2 separate regions of the Homo sapiens genome follow, and region 2 is linked to region 1. The links are contacts of gene promoters, found by promoter capture Hi-C in blood cells and fetal thymus (Javierre and others, 2016). All regions are on one chromosome and are shown on one strand. The core of a region is centred on a gene start or on the middle of the fragment in contact, and the rest is flanking DNA. Distances in the headings are between cores, read along the strand shown.

The links. Contacts are between HindIII fragments. The CHiCAGO score rates a contact against its expected background, and 5 or more counts as called.
Region 2: a contact is called between a fragment that was not itself captured here and the fragment with the promoter of ACTG2 in region 1, in 2 of 17 cell types (erythroblasts and activated CD4 T cells). The highest score is 6.8, in erythroblasts.

The regions. Positions count from the first base shown.
Region 1 is chr2:73,890,275-73,895,622 of GRCh38, forward strand. ACTG2 (actin gamma 2, smooth muscle) reads left to right here and starts at 2,734. Exons shown (of 9, transcript NM_001615.4): 1 at 2,734-2,777. RefSeq lists an enhancer at 1,810-2,623. The HindIII fragment of the contact is 3,877 bases long and covers 579-4,455 here.
Region 2 is chr2:74,408,128-74,414,136 of GRCh38, forward strand. No RefSeq gene overlaps it. Among named protein-coding and RNA genes, the nearest start is that of C2orf81, 10 kb to the right of the region's middle. The HindIII fragment of the contact is 6,860 bases long and covers 1,330-6,009 here.

The DNA of each region.
Region 1 (5,348 bases), core at 1,484-3,983:
AACAAATCGAGTACCTGGTGTAACCTCCCTCACCTTCTGATCTCTCCCTAAACATTTCCTCAGAGCTTCAGTTTATTCAGTTAGTCCCTGCTTTCTCGTCTCTGGGCTGTTTGGAGCCTAGATCACAACCAGTGCCTTTGTTATAGGCTTTTCATTGTTTATCGACTGGCTGTGCCAACTAAGAGGGGAATGTCCATAGGGCAAGGTGCCCCCATCTGCACGCTGACCACGGTGCTGAGTGATTAGAAGAAAGCTCACTCTGTGAAACAACCCTTACTCTGAGAAGGGAAAGGATGACCCCTCTAAACCCATGATCAGGTCAAGGGTGATTGGCACCCTGTCCCTGCCCTGGCCTCATTCCCACACAAGAAGAGAGAATCAGAGGGGGAGCTTATGACCCTGTCACTTAGCGTTGAGCTACCTGCCTCGGCCAGTTGGGACTGCGAGCACTCTGTCCATGCTGGGACAGCTCACACCTCATCCACTGCCACCTTCTATGCAGCACAGCTCCGGAAAGGGAGCCCTCTTCCCTCCAGAATCCCCAGTGAGGGTTTTCTAGGAACTTGAAAAGCTCAGGAAGCTTTCCACAGGCCTGGAATTTAGACTTAGGCACTAAACACGCAGGCCAGTGATCAAATGATGAGTAAGTGAACCTCACAATGACAACAGTGTTCCTTCTCCACAGGGAACAACTGCAGGTCCTCAAGGAAAGTGTTTTTAAATCTTTCCTCTGGGCTGTCTCAGCAGAGGACACTCCTCATTCACACCATCTCCTGCCTCAATTTTCAGTTAATGAGGAAGCCAGACCTGTACCAAGCCATTGCACCAGGTGACCCAAAACCACCTGGAACTCCCTGTGCGTTTAGCAGGGATGCAATGCATGCTTCTTCTATTGAAGCGGGGGTATCCTGGGCACCGGGTGGGGAAAGTTTAAGAAACACAGATGGCTGAGGCCTATTCACTGAGTTTCTGTTTCAATAGGGCTAGGTGACACCTGAGAATCTGCATTGTGAGCACATTCCCATATCATGCTGCTGCTGCACTCTGGTGGTCCCCATGCTTTGGGAACCTCTGTGTTGAAGACGAAGCAGAGTCAGGAAGGCCAGTCAGGAAGCTGCGCCCCACTCCAGGCCAGATAGGACTGGAGCCTGAGGCAGCGCAGGCCAGCAGGGATTGAGGGAGGACACAGAGCTGAGGGGCATTTCTGGTCGGGGGAGCACCAGGCTGTGGTGCCCAGGTGGTTGTGGGAGCATGAGGGAGACACAGGGTTCTAGACTGACTGACTTCTAGCTTGAAGGGCCGAGGGGTGGACTTGGAAGTTGGCAACCCAGGAGGCACAGCAGCTTTGAGGGTAGGGAAGAAGGGTTCAGTTTTAGACAGGATGAGTTTGAAGAGCTGGAGAGTCATCTGGATTGGGATGTCCAATAGGCAATTGATCATTTTAGTCTGGATCAGGGTGAGGGAGGGGGACCATGAGAATGTGGAGTTGAAAGTAATACTGCAGAGCTGGTAGCTGATAATGTGGGAAATGAACCAGCTACCTAGGGATAGTACATGAATTACACAAAGAAGAGCAATCATCAGCCAGCCATGGTGGCTCACACCTGTAATCCCAGCACTTTGGGAGACCAAGGTGGAGGGATTGCTTGAATCCAGGAGTTCAAGATCGAGACCCTGTCTAATTAAAAACAAAACAAACAAACAAAAAGAAGTCCAGGCGTAGTGGCTCACACCTGTAGGCCAAGGCAGGTGGATCACGAGGTCAGGAGCTCGAGACCAGCCTGGCCAACATGGTGAAACCCTGTCTCTACTAAAAATACAAAAATTAGCTGGGCATGGTGGCAGGTGCCTGTAATCTCAGCTACTCAGGAGGCTAAGGCAGGAGAATTGTTTGAACCTGGGAGGCGGAGGTTGCAGTGAGCCGAGATTGCACCAATGCACTCCAGCCTGGGGGATAGGGCGAGACTCTATCTCAAAAAAGAAAAAGAAGCAGCTCAAGAATCACAGGACTGTGGAAAATCCTACAGGCCAAGAGTCTTGTTAGGTGTGCCTCAACCCTGAAGCAGGTCCCTCAGTCTGCAGATATTTAGAGATATTTAAAGGAAAACCAGGAAGGAGCCAAGAGAGAATGAAGCCTAAGGTGTCCTGAGACCCTCAGAGAACTCAGCCCAAGGGTTAGGAGCTTGTGTCAAGGTGCAGCAGGTGAGTAGGGCACGCAGGATTTCTTTCCTGGGTACGGAAGGCATTTCTCTTCAGCTTTCATTGGTCCCAGGCTCGTGCCAGACAAGGCATGATTGCACCCATTTTGGGGACAGTGCCTGGGCGTCCCAGGCAGACCCAGGGGCCGCATGCAGCAGGGCCTGAGGAGGGAGGTGTGGACGGAGGAGGCCCGCTGCCATTCTTGGTATGGTTCTCACTCCAGGAGCACAGCTGCATCTGGTCTCACTCTGGGCAGCTTATAAGGCCTGGTGTGAGTTTTGTTTATGCAAGTGCAGCATAAAAGGAACAAATCTACCAGCACCGGGGCTGTTGCCACTGAGTCCTTTTGCATACATTTTTCAAATGATAACTCACTCTACCCACCCCCCTTCCCTACCCCCAAGGCGATTTATTGAAAAAACCACCTTATATGGTAATATTGCTAACACACCGTCAGCTGGCCTTTTTAGGGACTTTGTTTAAAGAAGATCCGCCTCTGGGGTTTTATATTGCTCTGGTATTCATGCCAAAGACACACCAGCCCTCAGTCACTGGGAGAAGAACCTCTCATACCCTCGGTAAGTACTGTACGGCTTTTGCCACCTCTTCCTTTCCGGGGCTGCCTGGCCTCCTGGGTGCGGGAGGTGCCTCCAGATTGGCCTGGCTTCTGTGACGCTGGCCCAGATCACACACCAGAGCCCTTGGTGGGCAGCGGCACCTGCAAGCATACTGCAGCCTGCTGAGAAAAGGCGTATCTGGCCATGGGACATCCTGGGGCAGGGGCAGCTTGGAACCGTGCTCCCTGCCTCAGAATGGGGACTGGCGGGATATAATGCCTGCAGTCTCTACTAGCCCTGCTCCCCAGGGCCAGTGCAGATCCACACCCTGATGTCCTTTGTCTTGGGTTAGAATGTCTGGGAGGCTGTTTTAGGGGATCATATACTTTGCAGAAAAGCAGCTTTTCAGAATACTTGAGTCAAAGCCAACAGTGGTCCTGGTGTCTGTGAGCTGTTTAGTCCATGAAATGTCTGTGCTGGGAATGGGAGGGTATTTTCTTCAGGTCCCCTGTGGGTCTCTCTGTCCTCTGATCTGTGCTTGGCTGAGGAGAATGGAGGGTTTCTGCAGTCCTTGAAGGCTCTAGGATCATTGGGGGATGGAGAAAATTCCACTTGCCCTGTGGCATCGTGAGGTTTCAGGGTAGAAGGAACTTGGGACCCATCTAGTTCATTCTCCTCTGATGAGGACATTGAGGCCTAGAGACGTACAGCCACTCATCCAAAAGACTCACACCCAACTGTGACCCATTTGCAGATGTCATTACTCCCCCCAACCCACCCAACACACACACAACACATGCACAAAGAATTAAGAGGAAGATGAGATGAAGGGGCCACTTCTATGTTTGGCATCAGAATTCACTAGCATCTCTTCACAGGTGAGGCAGGCTGGGTGTGGCAGTGCAGGCCTTGAAGGCAGACTGTCAGGCTAACCAAGTTACTGAGCGACCTCAGCTTCCTCACCTGTAAAATGGGGGCAAGAATAATAATATCTACTTGGCGATGGTGTGAGGATTAAACGAGAGAATGCGTATATACAGCACTCAGCTCAAGGCTGTCAGGGCCCGGCCCTGAGTTCTCAAACTTTAAGAATCACCTGGAGTGCTTGTTAAAACACAGATTGCCCCATGCCCCACCCCAGATTCTGATTCCAGTAGGCCGAGATATGGCCTGATACTTGGAATTCCTAACAAGCTCCCAGGCGACACTGAAGCTGCTGGTCTGGGACCACACTTTGTACAGGGAGGCTCTAAGTGCTCACTTTGATTACTTGAATGTGGGTTTGGACTCTGATACTAACCCTTGGGCTGAAAAGAGGAAGAGCTTCCTGTGACAGAGAGGGATGGGTGCTGGAGAAACTGCAATGAACAGTAAGATCCTACATGCCAGGCCTGAGAAAAGGGGATGGGCCGTGTGACATCATGACCTTGGGGCGAGATATCTTTCCTCTTTCCCCTTGTTCATTCTGCCAACATTTATTGAGCACTTATTATGGGCCAGGCACTGTCTCTGCTCCTTAGGGACAGTGGAGAGGCTTCTGCAGTTACTGGAAGAGACAGATAAACAGATGAGAACCATGGAGCAAATAAGTACACGAAAGGGGTAAAGGCCAGGAGGAGCCCATCACTCAACCCAGGAGTTATCAGGGAAGACTTCCTGGAGGAAGAGGTGCCTGAGCTTGGTCCTGAAGTAAGGACCAAGCTTGGTCCTTCCTGGTAAAGAGGAAGCATGGTCTTTGGGACTCAAGTGGCTCAATTCCACTGAATTTAGATAGCAAGGCAGGAATCAGGTAAAACTAAATTCAGAGGGGTCCGCAGGGCTGGATTACAAGGGCTTTAGACTCTAAAGGATCAGGCTATGGGGAGCCATGGAAGGGTTTTAATCTGGAGGGTATCTGTTGAAGGGGCTGCTTTGGCAGCTGTGAGGAGAGTGGACTGGAACAGGGCAAGAGCGCTACTGCAGCATGCGGTGGTCCTGAGCTGGTGGCATGGGTGCCGTGCAGGTAGAAGTAAGAAGGGCTGGTGATAGGTTGGGAGGGAAGAGGGCGGCACCAGGGCATTGGGCATGGGCTCAGGGTGGGTGGTGTGAGTCTGTGAGGGCAGCTCCGGGCAGAGGCTGCTGATGAGGAGAGCAGTCCTGGAGGTGTGGAGTTGGGGTGCCAGGGGGGTTTTGGTGGGGGAGATGCACGGCAGGCTCTGCAGGCCTAGAGCTCAAGAGAGGGGTCTGGACAGGAGCAGAGCCAGGGGAGTGAATGGAAGTCCGGGTAAGAGCCAGAAGATAAGGCACCCACGACAGATTGTGGAGGATCCAAAATATTACTCAGCAGAGTTGTTTTTAATTGAACTCATGTATATATAGAACCTAGTGAAGATATCCTGAAGTTAATTAGAGGTGCTGTTAGAATTTTCCATCGTGGCAGTGTTTTTCATAGACAATTTCTCTCTGCCAGGGTTTCTGATGGTTTGTATATACGTGTAGGCAAATAATAAAAGGCAGAGACGCAGCTGCTTACATGTCACTTGAAGCTCTCACCCAAAAACCTGTCGCCAACTATTGTTTGAAATCTCATCATCGCAGAGGCCCTCCGTTTAG
Region 2 (6,009 bases), core at 3,510-6,009, 520 kb after region 1:
CTAGAAGAGGAAGCATTATGGCTAAGAGAAATGCCTCATAATCCCCATGTATACAACACCGGGCTCCACAGCATTCACAGTCATTCCTAAGAAGGTGAGACACAAGGAGAGTGCAAAGTGAAGAGAGAGGAGGATGACCGATAAAAGGGGTTAAGTGTAGTTCAGCAGCGTGCAAATCCTACCAAGTCTGTTGGGTAGTGTTGACCAGTGACTTGAGGGTGGTGCAGGGGACACTGGTGCTCTGTAGCTTACCTTAATGGTACCCAAGCCAGTAAGGAAGGATGGGTATTGGAAGTGTTGGGTGAACTGTAGGAGGAACATGGTGGACGATGCTGGTATTGGAAAACACCAGCAGGAAAGAAATATTGTGGGAGATGAAAAGAGTGGGAAAAGGTTGAAATGATGTGAATACAGGGTTGAGAGAAATAGAGGGTACAAAGATGATAGTTGGAGTGGAATAAAATGCTGGTTTGGGGCACATTGGGAGTACTTTATGGCCAGGACATGTTGGCAGGAGATGCGAAAGGTTGGGAGGTGGTGCTGGGAGTGGAGTAAGGGGTGTCAGAGGCAGTTACCTCTTCCTTGAAGTCTCTGGGCAAGCTCTCCAGTGAATGAAGTCAATAGCAGTTTGCTGCAGTCATAGTTTTGGTTAAAGGTCAAAGGGCCTCCAGCCTGTCAGGTGCCCCTCATCAATGTACCCATGTGCATGCCGAACGGAAGACACATTCACCACTGGGGCTGACCCTGCCTGTCGTAGGGCCCCTGGGTAGAGATGGGAGGGACCACACTGCTTCAATCCAAGTTCTAGAGTAAACTCCCATGCTCACTCCCCAACCTGCTTCTCCAGAAGATAGGAGAGCAGGGCTCTCTAAGAAGGGGCAGTGGGGTCCCTATCCAGAAACCTGGGCTAGGCATAGGAGAGCTTAATGTTAGCTGGGACCTCATTTTCATTATTAGCTGCCTTCCTAATGATCTTCTTCTTCTTTCATATTAGTGTTTGGAGTTTTGCCTTTCTTTTCTTCTACTTGCTAGTTGGAGCTACCTTAATTGATCCTCATTTATATGTTTTATTTCACTGATGGCTAAGAAGGGGAAGGAGAAGCTGGAAACACTGTGAAAGTTGCTTTCATGTATTCATACATTCATTCCTTCATTTATCCATCCCACAAATGTTCATTAGGCACCTGGAATATGGCAGACACTAAGCTAGGTGCTAAGGACATAACGGTGCTAGGTTTGGGGGAAAAGAAATATGTGTGCAGAGATACTTGAGAAAATGTTTTTAAAGAAACAAAGCTAGGGAAGGTCATCACTGGAAAACTATTAACAAGCTTAATATTTAAAAAAAAAAAAACCAACTATGTTTCAAACAAAAACAAAATTAAAATCCTAAAGTTAAATCTTAAAAAAAATGTTTAAAATAGTACATAAGTGTTTTAGTCTGTTCTCACACCACTATTAAGATGCTACCTGAGACTGGGTAATTTATAAACAAAAGTGGTTTAATTGACTCACAACTCTGCATGGCTGGGGAGACCTCGGGAAACTTATAATCATGGTGGAAGACAAAGGGGAAGCAAGGCATGTCTTACGTGGTGGCAGAAGAGACAGAGAGCAGGCAGGGGAAAACTGCCACTTTTTATTTATTTTTTATTTTTTATTTTTTTTGAGTCGGAGTCTTGCTCTGTCGCCCAGGCTGGAGTGCAGTGGCGCGATCTCGGCTCACTGCAAGCTCCGCCTCCTGGGTTCACGCCATTCTCCTGCCTCAGCCTCCCGAGTAGCTGGGACTACAAGCGCCCGCCACCACGCCTGGCTAATTTTTTTTTTTGTATTTTTAGTAGAAACGGGGTTTCACCGTGTTAGCCAGGATGGTCTCCATCTCCTGACCTCGTGATCCACCCACCTCGGCCTCCCAAAGTGCTGGGATTACAGGCGTGAGCCACCGCACCAGGTCAAAACTGCCACTTTTAAAACCATCAAATCTTGTGAGATCTCTCTCAATATCACAAGAACAGCACGGGGGAACTGCCCCCATGACCCAATCACTTCCCACCAGGTCCCTCCCTCTACATATGGGGATTACAGCTGGAGATGAGATTTGGGTGGGGACACAGAGCCAAACCATATCAATAAGTATACAAAAAAGTCTGGATTGGCTGGGTGTGGTGGCTGATGCCTGTAATCCCAGCACTTTGGGAGGCCAAGGCGAGAGTTTGAGGCCAAGGTGGGAGGCCTGAGGTCAGGAGTTTGAGACCAGCCTGCCCAACATGGCAAAACCCCGTATCTAGCAAAAATACAAAAAATTAGCCAGGCATGGTGTTGGGCACCTGTAATCCCAGCTACTCGGGAGGGTGAAGCAGGAGAATCGCTTGAACCCAAGAGGCGGAGGTTGCAGTGAGCCGAGATCGCGCCACTGTACTCCAACCTGGTAAACAAGAGCGAAACTCCGTCTCCAAAAAAAAAAAAAAAAAAAAAAAAGTCTGGATTATGTAAAGTATAAAAAATAGTTGTTGTCACATATGAGTTTACAGTATTGTTTTTAAAATGCTAAAACTATTTTGAAATTAAGACTCACTCAGTGGGAGGCCAGCCTGCTGCATGGACTGCTTCCAGCACTGCTCCTTCTCTCCCCAGAAAAAAAAATTAATACAAAATAAAATTTAAAAATTACAAATTACAAATGAGAAACTGAGCAGGTGGTATTTAGCCAAAATTTGCTGGAAAGAAAATTATTCTTAAAGAAGACAATGGACTTTAAATTTGCAGACAGTGACATAGAGACCAAAAGTGTTCTCTGCTCAGTTGGAGAGACTGATCCTCACAGAGCAACATCAGTGCAGTCACAGAGATATGTACAAGGGGGCTAATGGAGCCCCATAAATAGGGGTGACTGGGGGAGGTGAAGGTTGGGGAAAGATCCACAGCAGAGGTGATATCTGTGCTGCGTCTTGGCAGGTGAACTAAAGTTAGCCAGGCCAACATGATGAGAAAGGATATTCCAGATAGAAGGAACCGTATGTGCAAAAACACAGCCAGAGGGTGAAAAAAAACAGACCGTGGTCCAAGAGCTGCAGATTGTCTGGCTGGAGACTAGGAGGTGGGTTAAGGAAGGGCAAAAGGCAAGGCTCTTAGTCAGCAGAGGGTTTTTTTTTTTTTTTTGAGACAGAGTTTCACTCTTGTTGCCCAGGCTGGAGTGCAATGGCGCGGTCTTGGCTCACTGAAACCTCCACCTCTCGGGTTCAAGCAATTCTCCTGCCTCAGCCTCCCGAGTAGCTAGGATTACAGGCATGCACCACCACGCCCAGCTAATTTTGTATTTTTAGTAGAGACGGGGTTTCTCCATGTTGATCAGGCCGGTCTCAAACTCCCAACCTCAGGTGATTTGCCCACCTCAGCCTCTCAAAGTGCTGGGATTACAGGCATGAGCTACTGCACCCAGCCTAGCACACAGCCTTCTAAGTGTAGAGAAGGGGCTTAGAGTTCATCCTACAAAGGAGAGGTTACCTTCAAAGGATTTTAAGCAAGAAAGTGTCATGATGAAAGGTGATTACTCGATGTGGCAGTGGGGAGAATAGATTAGAGAAGATGAGACAGGAAAGAAGTTTAAGAAACTGTCACTAAGCAAGATGCAGATAGTGTCGTGACATGTTACAATTTGTGGAAAGGGACAAAAACAATCATACTTGCAGGTGCATAGAGTTTTGCCTTTGTTCACTTTCCAATTGGGATTAATTTAGTTGACTGCTAAAGGATACGTGAGACTCCGGCAACAGTAGTTGCCTCTCAGGAGGGGAACAGGTGGCTTATGTACCAGAAGAGAAAAATAGTTTAAAAAAAAAAACCCTCTGTATCCTTTTGTACACTTTCAATTTTGTACTTTGGATATGTATTACCTGACCAAAAGAAAAATTGCTTTTCTTTTAAGGAGGCTATCACATTGCAAGGGGATGAGTAATTAAAAAATAATAATAATAATAAAGGGGCTATTATACAATCTAGGAGAAAATGTCAGAGAGAATGTTCCTGCCACCCACTCCCCGAAACTTTCCCTGGAGGAGCCAAACTTTCTCAATCAGAAAGGGCCTCTTCAAAGGACTTAGGCCCAAGGCAGTAATGTATCAACTGTATCATCTGTATGGCCTACACCTCTGGCCGACCCTGAGAACAGAAACTGAGTCTTCTTGCTTTCTCTGTTTCTGGTGCCTAGTGTCCCCCTCAAGAAGCCTTCATTGCAAAAACTACTCTACTGGTCTGGCTAGAACTAGGGGATGGGAGAAGGAGGTCTGGGATCTCATATCCCCTTGCTGATTATATTTTGGGCTGAATGATTCTTCTATCAGCCTTCTAATACTGACTTGTGCCAGCTGGGCTTCCCTGATGTGTGACACAAAAAGTGTGTTGGGTCACCACTCAGCAAACAGCTGGGTGCCAAGAGGCAAGAGGTGGTCCTGGGAGACAGTTACTAGAATGCCAGGGGTATAGGGAAGAGGGCAGCACAGAAGGTGCCCATCCTTCCTTACCTTGGAGTAGATTTGTGAGCAGAAAGGGCCCAACATAGTTAGTGACAAAGGTGAGATCCAGGCCCCCTGGGGTAAGTGTCTTCGGAATCCTGGGAGGAAATGAAAACACTGGCATTGAGTGATAAAGGGACCACCTTGAGGGAGACAAGGTCTGGGAGGGACATATTACCTTCAGCAGAAATGCCACAGGGGCACATACATGTGAAGATGGGGGCAATGAAGTTTAAGGCTATAACTCAATGTCAGCTTTTTAGGGGAGGGTATGGATTAGTGTTTTGGCAAGATTGCATAGACTAGGCTTTGAGGATACCTGTTTTAGAGTTCCTGAGCTAGAAAGGAGACTGCAGAAACATGTTTGGAGAAGCAAGCCAGGCACATACCACTGACTCCAGCATTGTTTACCAGCAGATGTATCTCAGGATTCTCCTGTAGAAGCCTCCGGGCAAAGCTCCGAATAGAGGTCATGGAGCTAAGGTCCACCTCGCCAAGCAGGAGGCGGTTGCTGTTTGAGGCTGCTTGGATCTCAGCCAGGGCTTGCTGTCCACATTCCCTGCTCTGACAAGTAAGGATCACTTGGGCCCCACACCGAGCTAGGTCCTGGGATACAACCTTCCCGATGCCTGTGGGAGGACAACTTCGGCTGGGTGGTGACTACAGTGAACAAGGGACACTCTAGGGGAGGGACAAGGGTGTTGATAGTGGATGCTCCTCCCTGCCTTCCCTGTGAGAGTTGTTGGAGGCTGAGGCCCATAGTGAGGATTCAGGGTGGGAGGAGCACTCACCACTGTTGGCCCCAGTCACTATGGCTATTTTCCCAGTCAGATCTGTGGAGCAGCACTGGAGGTCCCAGGGATGAGACTTCTGCCAGAGCTGCACATGTAGTTGAAGAAGACCAGAATAAGGAAGACAGAGCCAGCGCCCCAGACCAGGATGCTGAGTGCAGCCCACAGCAACATAGCAGAAACTTCCTGGGCCTGCTGGGGAAATGCTGTAGGAGGAAGTGGGTGCAGGATAAATCTGGGCAGAGTGGAGACTAGCAATGAGGCAGGTGTGGAGCCTAAGATAAAATTTAAGGAGGCACTGACTCTTGAGTTTGTTCAATATACTGTTTGAGTTTGAGAGTTCCTCCTTAACTTCAAAAGTGAAATTTGGATTTGCAGTCTAAGGTGAAGTGACCAAGCTCCAGGGACCAGGGAAGCAAGAAATCAAGTTCTTCATATCTCGAATCACTCTGTGCTTATGCGGGGCCTTCTCCTTCCTCCCCTACTGAAAGGAGACTCGAAGTTCTCTCTACAGAGCCAGACCCGCTGGCAGCCCTTATGTCTACTCCTTTGGGGGACAGGGGTTTCTCTAGAATGCCTCTGCAATGGGGCAGCTTTGGCCCTAATGCAGGGTCTCCTAAGGGTGGCGAGAGGGTTATTTCCTGAACCCTGGTTCTATCTTCTTCTAGGCCTGCAGGATAACTGCTCCCCTTGGGGTTCAGTGAGAG